Linked DNA regions of Homo sapiens: all the other regions are linked to region 1. Evidence: promoter capture Hi-C in 16 types of primary human blood cells and fetal thymus (Javierre and others, 2016). All regions are on one chromosome and are shown on one strand. Each heading gives the region's core, a stretch centred on a gene start or on the middle of the fragment in contact. The rest is flanking DNA. Distances are from core to core; before and after follow the strand shown.

Evidence for each region. Contacts are between HindIII fragments. The CHiCAGO score rates a contact against its expected background, and 5 or more counts as called.
Region 2: a fragment that was not itself captured here is called in contact with the fragment with the promoter of TMEM121 in region 1 in 7 of 17 cell types (M2 macrophages, total B cells, erythroblasts and 4 more); the score reaches 16.6 in M2 macrophages.
Region 3: a fragment that was not itself captured here is called in contact with the fragment with the promoter of TMEM121 in region 1 in 1 of 17 cell types (erythroblasts); the score reaches 6.3 in erythroblasts.
Region 4: the fragment with the promoter of BTBD6 here is called in contact with the fragment with the promoter of TMEM121 in region 1 in 8 of 17 cell types (non-activated CD4 T cells, M0 macrophages, erythroblasts and 5 more); the score reaches 8.4 in non-activated CD4 T cells.

Annotation. Positions count from the first base shown.
Region 1 is chr14:105,524,485-105,528,217 of GRCh38, forward strand. TMEM121 (transmembrane protein 121) reads left to right here and starts at 2,099. Exons shown (of 2, transcript NM_025268.4): 1 at 2,099-2,169. The HindIII fragment of the contact is 18,865 bases long and covers 1-3,733 here.
Region 2 is chr14:106,007,204-106,010,936 of GRCh38, forward strand. It overlaps IGH. Among named protein-coding and RNA genes, the nearest start is that of FAM30A, 91 kb to the left of the region's middle. The HindIII fragment of the contact is 1,496 bases long and covers 967-2,462 here.
Region 3 is chr14:105,941,878-105,945,610 of GRCh38, forward strand. It overlaps IGH and the pseudogene IGHVII-1-1. Among named protein-coding and RNA genes, the nearest start is that of FAM30A, 26 kb to the left of the region's middle. The HindIII fragment of the contact is 994 bases long and covers 1,249-2,242 here.
Region 4 is chr14:105,246,513-105,250,245 of GRCh38, forward strand. It overlaps BTBD6 (BTB domain containing 6), which reads left to right and starts at 2,021. Exons shown (of 4, transcript NM_001387567.1): 1 at 2,021-2,573; 2 at 2,645-2,735; 3 at 2,848-2,966; 4 at 3,128-3,733. The coding sequence starts at 2,200. The region is part of intron 5 of BRF1 (BRF1 general transcription factor IIIB subunit); the gene reads right to left. RefSeq lists enhancers at 1,647-2,437, 3,229-3,733 and silencers at 1,813-2,372, 2,573-2,622. The HindIII fragment of the contact is 26,340 bases long and covers 1-3,733 here.

The sequences.
Region 1 (3,733 bases), core at 849-3,348:
GTGTTGAATTCCGTCAAATACTTTCTTTGAATTGATTGAGATGATCACATGGTTTTCTTCTTGAGACTAATATGGTGGATCACATCGATTTATTTTCACATGTTGAACCAGCCTTGCCTTTCTGGGATAGCCTCCATTTGGTTGGGGTATTTGTGTGTGTGTGTTTTTAATGCTGCTTGATTCTATTTGCTGATAATTAGTTGAGGGTTTTTGTGTCATGTTGGCATTGGCGGCTGTTGATTGTCTTTTCTCTTGCAGGTTGGATTTCCTGATTCTTCACATGCAGAGTAATTTTAGATTGTCTCCTGCACATTTAGACATTATGTTATGAGACTGGTCTTATTTAAATCCCATTGAGAATGTTGGCATTTTGTTTTATCATGCAATCAACCTAGTTGGTTTCAGGCCACAAGTTCAAATAGGCTCCTGTGGGTCCTGCCTTCCATGTCGGTTTTGTTTTCAAAGCCTTTGCAGTGGGACTCAGATCTGTCCTTCGTATGCACTGCCCAGTGGCCAGTGTGGGACGTGGGCAGTGGGCTGTCCTTTTGTTCAGTTCTCAGCCTTTGGGATGTGAATGAGGGTTTAGACTTGTACATCATGTATGGCTTGCACAACTTCCTGGGGTTGCTTTTTTTTTTTTTTTTTTTTTGAGACAGAGTCTCACTCTGTTGCCCAGGCTGGAGTGCAGTGGCAAGATCTCGGCTCACTGCAACCTCCATCTCCCGGACTCAAGCAATTCTCCTGCTTCAGCCTCCCGAGTAGCTGGGATTACAGGTGTGTGCCACCACGCCCGGCTAATTTTTATATTTTTAGTAGAGATGGGGGTTTCACCATGTTGGCCAGGCTGGTCTCGAACTCCCGACCTCAGGTAATCCGCCCACATCGGCCTCCCAAAGTGCTGGAATTACAGGTGTGAGCCACCACGCCCAGCCCATGGATTGCTTTCTACTGCTTCTCCCTGCCCACCATCTCTCCAGCGACAGGGGACCACATCTCCTGGGGCTGGAAAGGAAGGCTCTTCTGCCTCAGCGTTTTAGGTGCTTGTAAACCCTATGCCTTGGTCATGGCTTTGGTGGGATACCTAGGGGCTGGGGCATCAGAGAATGGAGAAGAGTAAAAAAACAACCACTACCAAAAAACCCCATCCTCCCAAACCCTAACATCCCCCCGGGCATTCTCCTGCACCCTGGGAGCATTAGGCGACCTTTTTCTTTCCTCCCCTTGTGCCAGGACTAGAGAACTTCTGGAGCTCTCTGTCCTCTTCTGGCTTTCAGGCCGTGTTGAGTCCAGGCCCGGGGATACGGGAAGAGAATCTGGAAGTTCACTACCAGTTGGGTGGTGCCTCAAATTCTGGTCTTTCCACCAAATCTGGTGTCCCTTTACCTCTCTGACCCTCAGTCTCCTCCTATGTCAGAGGGAAGTCACAGCAGTTCTGGGAAGGAGGGCAGGCAGGCAGAAGGTGCCCTCGGGTTCTTCTCTGGCTCACACGGGATGGACAGGATGTGGGGGGAGGGGCTTAGTGCCACCTCAGTGACAAAATGAAGCCCAAGTCCCCAAACCCTAGCTTGCCTCCTGGACGGGCTGGAGAAGAAGGTGGGGGCCGCTCATCATTCCTTTCCTCTGCCCTGAGAAGAAACCTGGGAAGGCTGGGTTTCTCCCCAAAGAGGACAGAGGGTGGCGCGGAGGGCCCCGGCGGCCAGGCCAGCCCCGCGCCTACATCCCTGTCAGCTCCTGGGCCGGTGGGCGCCTGTCCGGCTGAGTGGGGTCGCTCTAGGGGGCGGCAGCGGAGTTTCAGGGCGCGGGGGGCACTGGGCGGGACCCTGGGATTCTGGGCGGTGGGTGAGGAGGGTGGAGACGGGACTCCGCGCCTGGGGGTGCGCGAGGGCGCCCCGCTCCCCAGAGCCACCAGTCCTGCGCGCCGCCGCGCGGTGCTGTCGCCGTGGCAACCGGCGCTGCGGAGGGGGCGGGGCACCGGCACCCCCGCGCTCCCAGGTCCCCAGGTCCGGCGGGGCTCGCGGGCCGAGGGGCGCGGGGCGGGGCCTCTGGGTCGGGGGCGGTGCCGCGCGGGCGGGGGAGGGGCGCGGCGGGAGGAGCCGGCGCGGCCCCGGCAGTGGCGGCAGAGGCTGGGCGGGCGGGCCCGGGAGCGGCGCAGCATCTGCGGGCGGCGGGGTAGGCGCGGGCGCGGGCGGGACTGGCTGGGTGCGCGGCTGCGTCCGCGGAGGGGGCGGCGGGCCTGGGCGACCCTGCACCTCTGGGCCGTGGGGACTGTGGGGTGGGGCGGGGGCCGATGCGGCAGGGGTGAGGCCTGGGGCCGGCGGGGTGACGGGGACCCGGCCCTGCGTGGGGAAGCCTCGGGGGGACAAGCAGAGACGCAGCCTGCTGGGAGCGGCCCAAGCTCTGCACCGGCCCGCGGCGGGAGCACAGCAGCCCCCTCCCGCCCCTCCTCCCGGGGGCTCCGAGGGGTGGTTATGGGGCGAGGGTCCTTGCGGGGCCCGGGCAGTGAAGGGCCTGGAGGCCCCAGAGTCTGTGCCAGGTCTGAGCCGCGGGGCGTGGGGGGAGGAGGGGCCTCGGCCGGGGCCCAGGAGACCCAGGACAGGTGGGCCTGGGGCCAGGTCCCTACGGAGAGGTGGCCGGGCCGGGCTCTGGCTTGCCGGGGTAGGGGCTCCGCTAGGGGCTGGAGTCCGTCCCTTCGCCAGCGCAGAGCCCCTCGGCCCGCATCTGCCAAGTGACTGAGGATCGAGCGACAGCGTAGTGGGGCGGAGGGGCTGGAGGCACGGCCGGAAAGGGTGAGCGGCGCCGTGGCTCCCCCGCTATTTATTTGGCCCCGCCACGCGCGGAGAGGGAGGAAATTCTCAGGCTGCGGCTGCAGCTAGGGGAGGCCCAGGTGGGCCTGGAATGGGCCCAGAGAGGGCTTCCTGGGTCAGACGTGTAGATCCAGTGGACGTGAAAACCGGGTGAGTGTCCCGGTGGGACCCAGAGCGCGGGGAGGCTTGGAGGCAGGGGCATGGGCTGAGGACCCTCAAGGCACCCTCCTCGCGACCTGTCAGAGCTCCGAGGGGTGGGGGTGTCCTGTGTGTGGCTGTGGGGATCCTGGGCGGCGGGTGCTGGGTGGGGGCAGGGGTGGGAGTGCAGAGTTCAACGCTTTCCCGGATCGGTGGGGCCTGCGGTGTCACCAGGGCAGTCCGAGCGCCCGACTGTCACGGGGACATTAAATTTTATGCCTTTGTCTAGACACGGCAGTAAACGGAGCCCCAGGCCTGGGGCTGTGGAGGGGGTGAGGGGCTGGCTGGGAGTAAGCCTGTCAGTGACTTTGGGGTGGGTGCGGGTGTGCGGGCCTCCATTGTCACCCAGGTGTGCACAGGCCCAGGTGCGGGGACTCCGACAGCACGGCCATGAGGACCAGTGCCAGGTGTGTGACAGAGGTGCAGGGGCCTGTGGAAGCCCGACGGGCCTTGGTGGACGGGCTTCCCGAGATTCGAGGGCAGCCACAGGCATCGCCCTGGCGCAGAGGAGCAAAGCAGGGTGGCTCTGCCGGGGCAGAGGGTGGGGGACAACACCTCGCCAAGGCAATGCGGAGCCATGGGGAGCAGGGCAGGCAGTGGCCACGCGCCCAGGATGGTGGACAGGAGGGGAGACCGAGCCTGCCCGTGCAGGGAGGAGGGGCGTGGGGGCTGCCGGGCAGGGGCGGGGAGGCTCGGAGAGGCTTGTGGGACGGATGCATCGGGACCTGGGT
Region 2 (3,733 bases), core at 465-2,964, 480 kb after region 1:
TCTCTCCTGGGGATCCTGTACTGTCTTATTTGTGCAGGTTCACTCTGTGGGACTTGTCTTTATAAATCTCAAATCTCAGGAACAGGAGAGCTGTGCTTCAAAAGCCCCCATAGAGAAGACACATTCCCATCCTGCTGTGACTGAAACAGCTCCATCCTGGGCATGGGGAGGGCTCATGTGTCCCACCTGGGATGAGAAGCAGCAGCCACACGTGAGCTGAGGAGGACTCAAGGCTGCTTCCCAGCACTTCCCCACAGAGTGAAATTTGTGTGTTTGCCCCAAATCCAGGCTGGCCCTGTGACTTGCTTCTTTCAAACTTCTTGGCCTGGAAAGTGCAGGCACCAGCTGTCACTGTCACCACTATTGTGACAGTGTACACAGCACCAGGACAGGATCCCAGGGATGGGGCTGAGGACAGACACTAGCTAAGTGGACCCATTGAAAACGTGCGGATCTGCTGAGGTTCACACTCCTGGAAGGACAGATCTTGGAGGGTTTGGAGGAGGAAGCAGCCACTGTCGGTGACTCAGGATCTGCTGCTCTGCGGGTCACCTCGTTGGCAAGTAACAGTGGGCAGGTGAGTGTGGTTCATCCCCTACAGGGACACCAGGCTTCCAAATGCCCCTCTTCACCAGGAAAGAAAGTGGCTTTGTTCATACTGGTTGCTCCAGCCGTCTGGTCATCCTGTCTTCCTGACCTTCTTCCCGTGTCCCTCAGGGCTGTGACACATGGACAAAGACACTTTCTACTCCAACCATTGATTCCCCAAGCCAGCTCCCTCTAGAAAAGCCATGATGTCTTCCTGGTTCTGTGTCCCTGGCTGAACCAGAATGGACACACATGGATATACCAAAGTGTCAAAGTGGAGGAGAGGAATCTTGGCAAAGATCACTCAGGAAAGAGAAAGGAATTCATTTGTGTGCAATGAGAGGGTGTGGGGCATGTCTGGAGGCTGCAGGAGCCAGAAGCTTCATATTTTTTTAGTGACCTCGGTTTTGTCTCCCCTGTTGTTGTGAGGCTTCCCTGAGTTCTCCTCCTCAGATAGACTCTGTGCCTTTTCACGCAATGACCTATAGGAGATGTTTACACCAAACAAAAAGCCTCAAACCTGGTTTATATTCTGATCTAAATTTTCAAAAGATAAACCCAAGAGAGATTCAAAGAAGTGATTATAAAATATCAGGATATAGCACTTGGCTGAGAAAACCTTAAACTCATATTATTTTTATGAACCATATGCATAACAAAACTGCCCAATTCCTCCACTTTATCAGAGACTGCCTGCAGGATGAATTTCAATGCCACCTAATTTAGAGTAGGAGCAAAACTTAAAATCCTCTGTAGGTCTGAGTGCCACTAATAACAACAACAACAAAAAATTTCAACCATTATGAAGTTTTAAGAGATGCCACAATGACAGCCTGGGTTGATAGGTGATGGCATTTTCCCTGGGCATATTCTGTGAAGAGTGATTACGGTAGCTTTTTCTTCTAATGAGGAGAAAGCAACAGAGAAAGTAAAAAATAATAATAATAACAATAATCACAAAACAGAAAAAAGTGGTCCAAATTATTTAACAAAAAAAGCACTAGAAACTGACACAAATTAAAAGGAGATACATTGATTACCTAGCAGAAAATTCAAAGTAAACCTTATAAATATGTTCACTGAGCTAGGAGAAGAATGCACGCACAACATGAAAATATTAACAGGGACAAAAAAGGGAGAGAGATGAGATACGATGATTTGTGGCTTAACAGTAGGGATACACTGGCCAGGCGCAGTGGCTCACGCTTGTAATCCCAGCACTTTGGGAGGGCAAAGTGGGTGGATCATGTAGGTCACGAGTTCAAGACCAGCCAGGGCAACATGGTGAAATCCCATCTCTACTAAAAAATAGAAAAAAAGAATTAGCTGGGCGTGGTGGTTCATGCCTGTAATCCCAGCTACTCGGAAGGCTGAGGCAGGAGAATCGCTTGAGCCTGGGAGGCGGAGGTTGCAGTGAGCCAAGATTGTGCCACTGCACTCCAGCCTGGGTGACAGAGTGAGACTCCATCTAAAAAAAAATGAAAAACAGTAGGAATACATCTGAGCAATGTGTCCTTAGGCAATTTGTCATTGTGCAAGGATCATAGAGTGTGTTTACACAAACCTACATGAAATACCTTGCTACACCCAGGCTGCGTGGGATAGCATAGTGCTCCTAGGTAACAAATCTGTATGTCATGTAAGTGTAGTGAATACTGTGGGCAGCTGAATCACCATGGTAGATGTTTATACAGATGAACATATCTAAGCATGGAAAAATGCGGTGAAAATACAGTATTATAATCTAATGAGACCTTTGTCCTGTAGGTGGCCTGTTGTTCACCGAAATATCATGATGTGCACGATTCTATTCAAGTTGCTGAAAATAAAAACAAAGCCAAGAAACTTCCAAATAAATATGTTACATGGATTAAAGCTTTTCTTCAATAATGCAGGAGGTTTGAGAAGTTTCCCAAAAAAGTAAAAAGTGGACAAGTTCATCACCACTAGACCGGCCTTACAGGAATGCTAAGTGTCTCTGGCAGGTTTCCAGAACAAGGAAGTAGCTGCATCAGCTCCACTCTGTTATCTGCCAATTGATAGATTTGCATAGTTTTTAATTTTAATTTATCTTCTGTTTTTTTCCCTCCATAAACTCCTTCTCCCTTCCTTTCATAATTCTGTCTATTAATGCAACTCATATTTAGCTGAAAATGCTGGGGTCATTGGAATAAATTTCTATTTTTCCTCCACCAAATCTAATAAGCTGTCTCCAGGGGTGTCCATCTCCGTTTTCTTTTCTGCCATTCCCATGGGATAATTTCCTTGTTCCTATGTGAGTCCAGCCCTCATCACCATGGGCCATCCAACCATCATGCACCCAGGAACAGCTTCAGGAAATGTACCCTGCCAGCTGCCTATCATCCTCCACCTGCACAGTGATCATTCCTTCAGCTTTCACTCATGCTGGAGGGCTTTCTACACAAAAGGGCATTTCACACCCACTCCCAGCACAGTTCTGGGACCCTGTATACCTCCCAGAGACAGGTACACATCCTTCCCCTTTGTTGTTAATTTTGTTTAATTTATTTAAAATTCACTGGGAAATCACTGATGATGGGGGTGACCAGCCTGTCCATTCCATCTGACGGCCCCACCTGTGAGGTTGGCCACCCTAGTGTGCTGTGCTCATGGGGCCATCTGGACACACACAAACACCAGGTGTGTGAGTTATTAGAGGAGACCCGGGGTCAGCAGGTGTCTGTGCCCCACAGGACACAGGTCTGTCCTGCAGTAGAGCCTGCATGACCTGGAATCATACATGTGCATGACCCGTGGTCTCAGCACATCAGTTGAGGCCAGCTTCAGGCAATTCCTGTGTAACCTGCCCTGAGTGCCCACAGAGGACAGATGCATGACAAGGATGTAAGGGAATGATGTGGGTTAGGGGAACTGAAGCTCAATCTTTACTGAGGCTTTACTCGGCACCTGGACCTTATGGAAGACTAAGAAGAAGAGAACAAGAGCCCGGCCCCAAATATCTCCTGGTTTAAGGTCAGCTTTAGTGGGATTTTAGAGAGTAGAAGACACAGGGGTGACGCTGGAGTGGTTTTCTTTGGGATACTTGGGGAGCAGCAGAAGGTGGGCCGGGATCAGGACTCCATCTGGCTGGTTCTCATGATCTACATGGATTCTCATAGTGGAA
Region 3 (3,733 bases), core at 496-2,995, 420 kb after region 1:
CGTCCCATGGGGCCCACATCGTGGGGCTTGGGAATGATGATGTGTCCAGGAGAGGGCATAGCCTCCACGCCTCGTTCTTGAGAGGGCCTGTGGTGTGGCTTTGGAAATTGGATAAGAATGGTGGCCGCAGCTGCTGGTGCTATAAGAACGGTCACAGCTGAGCAGCGGCCACAGTCCCCCGAGAGTGTCCTCTCCAAGGCACCGTGCAGCTGCTAACACCACCCACCCAGTGCCTGCGCGTCCTGAACTACCCAGAAAACCTACCTCAAGTTGAAAGGAAAAAGCAAAACTGTCTCTGTTCAGAGATTATATGGTTATAGACATAGAAAATCTTAAAGAATCTGAAAAAAAAATAAATCCCCAAAACAAAAACGGACTGTTCAAACTAAGAAAATCAAGGACATTTGAGCATATTAGCACCAAACAATTGGAAAATTAATTTTGAAAGGAAAAAACTTGTGAAGACATAAAAAGCAATCAGGATATACCTTAGAAGAAACATAAAACGATGTGGAGTTCTTTACACAGAAAATTGTAAAACATTGCTCAGAGGCTATGAACATATGAAGAGATACACCACATATTGGATGCATGGATTGGAAAACTCAGTGTAATTGAGAGACAGGACTAGCTGGATTTCCTAGGCCGACTAAGAATCCCTAAGCCCAGCTGGGAAGGTGACCACTTCCACCTTTAAACACGGGGCTTGCAACTCAGCTCACACCCGACCAATCAGATAGTAAAGAGAGCTCACTAAAATGCTAATTAGGCAAAAGCAGGAGGTAAAGAAATAGCCAATCATCTATCACCTGAGAGCACAGCGGGAGGGACAATGATCGGGATATAAACCCAGGCATTCGAGCCGGTAACAGCTACCCTCTTTGGGTCCCCTCCCTTTGTATGGGAGCTCTGTCTTCACTCTACTAAATCTTGCAACTGCACTCTTCTGGTCCATGTTTGTTACGGCTCGAGCTTCGCTTTCGCTCACCGTCCACCACTGCTGTTTGCCCCCGTGGGAGACCCACCGCTGGCTTCCATCCCTCCGGATCCATCAGGGTATCCGCTGTGCTCCTGATCCAGCGAGGCGCCCATTGCCACTCTCGATCGGACCAAATGCTCGCCATTGTTCCTGCACGGCTAAGTGCCTGGGTTCGTCCTAATCGAGCTGAACACTAGTCACTGGGTTCCACGGTTCTCTTCCGTGACCCACGGCTTCTAATAGAGCTATAACACTCACTGCATGGCCCAAGCTTCCATTCCTTGGAATCCGTGAGGCCAAGAACCCCAGGTCAGAGAACATGAGGCTTGCCACCATCTTGGAAGTGGCCTGCGGTCATTTTGGAAGCGGCCTGCCACCATCTTGGGAGCTCTGGGAGCAAGGGCCCCCCAATAACATAATTAAGATGCCAGTTTTCCCTAAATAAAATCTATAGTTTAAATTTAATCCAAATCAAAATCCCATTCAACCCAGCAATTCAATTACTGGAATTTCTCCAGGGTATAAAAGCACATGTGCTCCAATGATACAATGAATGCTTAGTAATCACAAGCAAATACCTTAAATGTCTCATAACATCTTTCACACAAAAGCTGTTGCATGTCTATTAGCTAATGATTCTTACATCTCATCCGGACCATGCAGCATGAGCAAAGGGATTTCTAACCTTCCGAAGTCTCAGTACTAACTGAGGACTTTACACAAATTGGAAATGGTCACGTGCATTTCATGGTGAGGGTGGGGAGCTTTTGCACTGGAAAGTCCTGTAGAGAAGATTCCGTTATCTTAGTAAAATCACACAGTTTTACTTTGCAGATTGGGATTACTATCGGATAAAGGGTTACTGATGTGGGAAGTTTTCCTACTTTATTATCCTTTTAGGTTCCTATGTGATACGGTTTGGCTCTGTGTCCCCACCCCAATCTCATCTCTAGTTGTAATTCTGATGTATCAAGGAAGGGTCCAGGTGGGAGGTGATTACAGGCATCTGCCACCACGCCCAGCTAATTTTTGTGTTTTTAGTAGAGACAGGTTTTGCCATGTTGGCCAGGCTGGTCTCAAAGTCCTGACCTCAAGTGATCCGCCTGCCTCGGCCTCCCACAGTGCTGGGATTACAGGTGTGAGCCACTGCACCCGGGCTCCAGGCTACACTTGAAGCATTTCTTAGGTTCAGTTCAGAGCAGCCTTTAGTCCTGAATTAATGTGGCACCACTACTCACGAGATTACTTCGGAAGATTGCTTGAAGCTTTACATATCTCAAGGTCTTTCCACCCTGGCTGGGAGAACACAAACAATGCTTTCCTTGTGTAGGCTCTGTGTAGTTTTGGGTCCACAGGTTTCTGGTGATTTCCCCCTGATATCGAGTAGTTTCTTTTCATGCAGGCATAAGTCAGGCATAAGTCAGTTCTCAGCCCCAAACCTGAGGGATCCCCCTCCCTGCGGCAAGTCTCCAGCTGTTCTCCCCCCGCCCCACCCCGGCCCATCCTGGCTGCACAGCAGCCTGCTCCCCGGTGCTCCTCCCCTCGGGCTGCTGCTGCCTTGAACTCTGCTCTCTGTCCGCTCAGCTCACTAAGCCTTTCCGTGTGTCCTGGCAGCTGCTTTCAGGCAATAGCAGGATTCGTTCATTTGTTTTTCTTTTCTCAGGGGTTATGATCCTGTGATGCTTGTTTCCAAATGTCTGAAAACTACTTTTTCAAAACATTTCCACCTCAGTGTTCTATTTGTTTAAGGAATGTGGGTAAGTGCATTTTACCCACAGGGCTTGAACCAACATTCAAAATTTTATGTTAGAACCTGTTAAAGACAAAGGGCAAAACTGATCACAAACTCAAATGCAGGACAGTTGCACTGCGATTCTTTTTTCGTTAGGTTACAGCCCTTATGTGTTGTACTCCGCGGGCGCAGGCTGAGAGCCGTCTGCACCTTTGTTACTGCGGCCCGACGCCCTCTTGCCAGGGCCACAGCAGCATCCCCCGGGTCACCGAGCCGGGGCTTTCCCACGTGCCTCCTTACAATTGCTATGTTTCTGCAAGCAGAGGCCCAAGGAAGTATGAAGCACTCCTCAATATCTAAATTAGCTAGCAAAACTCTACAGGGTGATTAAAAAAAAAAAAAAAAAACAACTGTGAAGGTGAGAGGTGCAGTGAGTCCTTGGCAGAGGCCGTTTGCTCAGGGAAAGTAAAACCAATGACCTGACTCAACGCGGACACGTCTGCCCCGCCCCCTAAAACCTGCTTCTGGGGCCGCTGTGTGGTCTGGAGCGCCGCCTGGTGGTCTTGTGCTTCCCTGCAGGGAGGTTTGTGTCTGGGCTCACGCTGAGGTCCCCATTCTGTCTCCCACGGGAATGTGCGGCCCTGCCCTTGGCCATCACGGAGCTCAGCTGCAGGGATAACTGGGCCTTGGATGTGTCTCTACAGATGGAGAGTTGGCCCAGAAAGGCTGGGCTGAAGTGTGTGCTGCCCCTGGAGCTGAGGTGCCCCAGCGCCTTCCCAGAGGGCTGCTGGGTCCAGGCCCAGAGGTCTGTGAGGACCTCACCAGCCCTGGGCATGACTCCAGTAGCTGCATCTGATGCAGGACACTCAGGGACAAGAAGCAAAGAGATGAGTCACAAGCGGACACCACAGCCCACAGCCCCCGTTCTGAAATCTCTGAGACACTCACATGGAGGTACAGCCATCAGGCAGAGGACGACACACAGAGATCTCATGTTTTCCTCAACAAGGGGCTCGACTTTC
Region 4 (3,733 bases), core at 771-3,270, 280 kb before region 1:
AGGCTGGAGTGCAGTAGCATGATCTCAGCTCACTGCAACCTCCGCCTCCCTGGTTCGAGCCATTCTCCTTCCTTGGCCTCCCGAATAGCTGGGATTACAGGTGCCCGTTAATTTTTGTATTTTTAGTAGAGATGGGGTTTCACCATGTTGGCCAGGCTGGTCTCAAACTCCTGACCTCAAGTGATCCGCCCACCTTGGCCTCCCAAAGTGCTGGGATTACAGGCGTGAGCCACCGCGCCCAACCTACACTGTAACATATTTAAAAATCAAAGTGCAAAGGGTGGTTTCTTTCTAAGGATGAAAATTATTATTCACATGCTCCACACCACCATGCAGATCAAGACGCTGACTACCTCTGGCGGCTCAGCAATTCTATCCTGGCACCCCCGGAGACAGCTGTCGCCCAGGTCTTGTGTGCTGCTGTAAGTTATTCCTTCTCACTGCATTCCCCAAATGGACCCACCACAACCTGCTGATCCTTTCTGTTGCTGATGGACATGTAGGCTGTCTCCACTCTGGCCATTTGTATTTCTCCTGGAAACTGCTTATGCCCGTTACCTTTTTCTATGGAAACAGACGGCTGGGACAGAAACCACGGCCACAGCAGCCAGCGTGTCTTTGCCAGTGGGGTCCCACACTATGAAATCGCAGCTGTGGCCTCGGTGGGTGTGTCCTTGGCGGGTGCATCCACACACTTTCTCTCGGAACTTTCCGGACTCTCATGCATATGCTACAGCTTTCCAAACGGCTTGGCCGTGCGGAGTTACGCACCCACCTGCAGCAGGTGATCTCCAGCTGCTCTGCATTCCACCAACACTACGTGACAAGTCTCAAGTTCAGCCGCCTGGGGGCTCGGGCACCCCATTCCTGGGAGAAATGATGATTTGTGCACTCTGGGCCATTGCATGGTGTCTGTTCACGTCCTTTGCCCGTTTTTTAAAAAACTGGGTTGTCAGCCTTTTCCTTCCTGACTTGTAGTTGCTCCTCCATCCTGGAGAGTCCTTTGTTGAAAATACCGCAAATATCTTCTGAAGAGGACTCTCCCAGGGAACATTCACTACAACTGTAACGACCACAGAGACACAGAGCTCCTGTTCACTGTTTAGCCCAGGACTGCGGTGACAGGTGCACCCATGACCCGAGATGCTGGCTGCGTCCTGTGGGGTTTCCTGCATATGGAAGTTTTAAAAGTCTAAAGCCTGGCGGTCCAGGAGGTTGCGTGTGTGTCCTCGGGGAGGAACCCTCCTGACAGCCAGGCCTCTGGAGCTTCGTCTGCACGCGAGCTTGGCATGCACCAGCTGTGCGGCCCAGGCCAGGTGACACGGCCTCTGAAGTCTGGTCTCCTCATCAGCAAAGCCAGTGCCCCATGCCACGCACCTCCCAGGATTAGCCCCAGGCCGGGAGGCTAGAGGCCCCACAAGGAGCGAGCCTGCGACTGCGATCCACAGGCAGAGCCACAGAGGCAGGGCGCGCCCTGGGGCCCAAGCTCCAGGGCTGCAGGCCCAGGGCCAGATCCTGACTTGCCCACCCGCCGGCTGTGTGACCTTCAGCGCGCGACTAACCTCTCTGTGCCTATTTCCTCGAGGAAAATGCCGGGAAATAGCAGCGCCTGCCCCTGTAAAGCCCTCAGAGCAGAGTGGACCGCGCTCTCTGCAAGCGCTGGCTGCTGGCGTCCGTAGCAAGCTAAATCGCGAAGCATCTGAACGAACGAGGAAGCCCAACGACCATCCCACAGGCCGCGGCCAGAGGCAGACTCCGGAATGCAAATGGCCAAACAAGCAGGTCCACCTGCGTTCCTAACCAAAAGATCGCTAACTGAAGAACGGGCGCAAGCACCTGCGCATGGCACTGCGGGTCTGGGGGCGGCCGCCTGCCAGCGCCGGGAGCCGCCTTCCACGGCTACCTCTGCACAGCGCGCGGCTCGCGCCGGTTGCTGGGCAGAAGCTCGAGCAGCTTCGAGGATGTCGGGCCTGGGGGCGGGGCCGCGAGGCAGCGACGTCGCGCGGGGCGCGGCCCTGACGCAGCGTGACGCACCGGCGCCGCGGCGGGTACGGGCTCGGGCGGGCGGGCGGGCGGGACGGCGCCCCCCGCGGCCGGGCCTGGCCGGGCTGCGCTAGGCTGGGCTCGGGCAGGGTCGCAGGGGCGGGGGTGGCAGGGGAGCGGGTGGCAGCCCCGCGGGTCACAGCGCCGCCGCCGCCCATGCTGCTGCCCCTAGCCTGCCTGCACGGCCGCGTCGCTCAGTGCCTGACCTCCTTGCTTTTGCTTGCAGAGCCGCTCCCGAGGCCCCGGCGCGGCGCGAGGGCGCGGGGCGCGGCGTCCACAGGCGCCGAGGCTGCCCCCGCCGCCCCGCCCGCGAAGATGGCGGCGGAACTCTACGCTCCCGCCAGCGCCGCGGCCGCGGACCTAGCCAACAGCAACGCCGGCGCCGCCGTGGGCAGGAAGGCCGGGCCGCGCAGCCCGCCCAGCGCCCCCGCGCCAGCGCCGCCGCCGCCCGCGCCCGCGCCGCCCACACTCGGCAACAACCACCAGGAGAGCCCCGGCTGGCGGTGCTGCCGCCCCACGCTGCGCGAGAGGTGAGCCCGTGCCCCGCGGCCCCCGCGCCCGCGCGCGCCCACGCCCCCAGCCCGTGCCTCTACCTTTGCAGGAACGCGCTCATGTTCAACAACGAGCTCATGGCCGACGTGCACTTCGTCGTGGGGCCCCCGGGGGCGACCAGGACGGTGCCCGCCCACAAGGTGGGTAGCGGCGGCCCCTCTCGGAACGCGTGCCCCGTCCGCCCCGTCCGCCGTGTGGCTGACACGCAGCCTGCGGGAGAGCCAGGCTCACGGCGGCGCTTTCTCCTCCCAGTACGTCTTGGCTGTCGGCAGCTCCGTCTTCTATGCCATGTTCTACGGAGACCTGGCGGAAGTCAAATCTGAAATTCACATTCCAGACGTGGAGCCCGCAGCCTTTCTGATCCTCTTAAAGTAAGTCCACTCTACTGGGGAGGGACGGGTGGGTCCGTTTTAGGCGGCCTCCGGAGGCTTCTGAAGGGAAGCACACAGGAGCTGATGGACTCCTCTCCCAGGCCCAGCCCCGCGATGGGTGCTTGGGAGCCAGCCCCTGACGCGGGCCCTGCCTCGCCTAGGTACATGTACAGTGATGAGATCGATCTGGAAGCCGACACGGTGCTGGCCACTCTGTACGCTGCTAAGAAGTACATCGTCCCAGCATTGGCAAAAGCCTGTGTCAACTTTCTGGAGACAAGTTTGGAAGCCAAGAACGCCTGCGTCCTGCTGTCCCAGAGCCGGCTGTTTGAGGAGCCCGAGCTGACGCAGCGCTGCTGGGAGGTCATTGACGCACAGGCCGAGATGGCCCTACGGTCCGAAGGCTTCTGTGAGATAGACCGGCAGACGCTGGAGATCATTGTCACTCGGGAGGCCCTCAACACCAAAGAGGCGGTGGTCTTCGAGGCCGTCCTGAACTGGGCCGAGGCGGAGTGCAAGAGGCAGGGGCTGCCAATCACCCCACGAAACAAGAGGCATGTTCTGGGGCGAGCCCTCTATCTGGTCCGAATTCCAACCATGACCCTAGAGGAGTTTGCCAACGGCGCTGCCCAGTCAGACATCCTGACTCTGGAGGAGACCCACAGCATCTTCCTGTGGTACACGGCCACCAACAAGCCCCGCCTGGACTTTCCCCTGACCAAGAGGAAGGGCCTCGCCCCGCAGAGGTGCCACCGATTCCAGTCTTC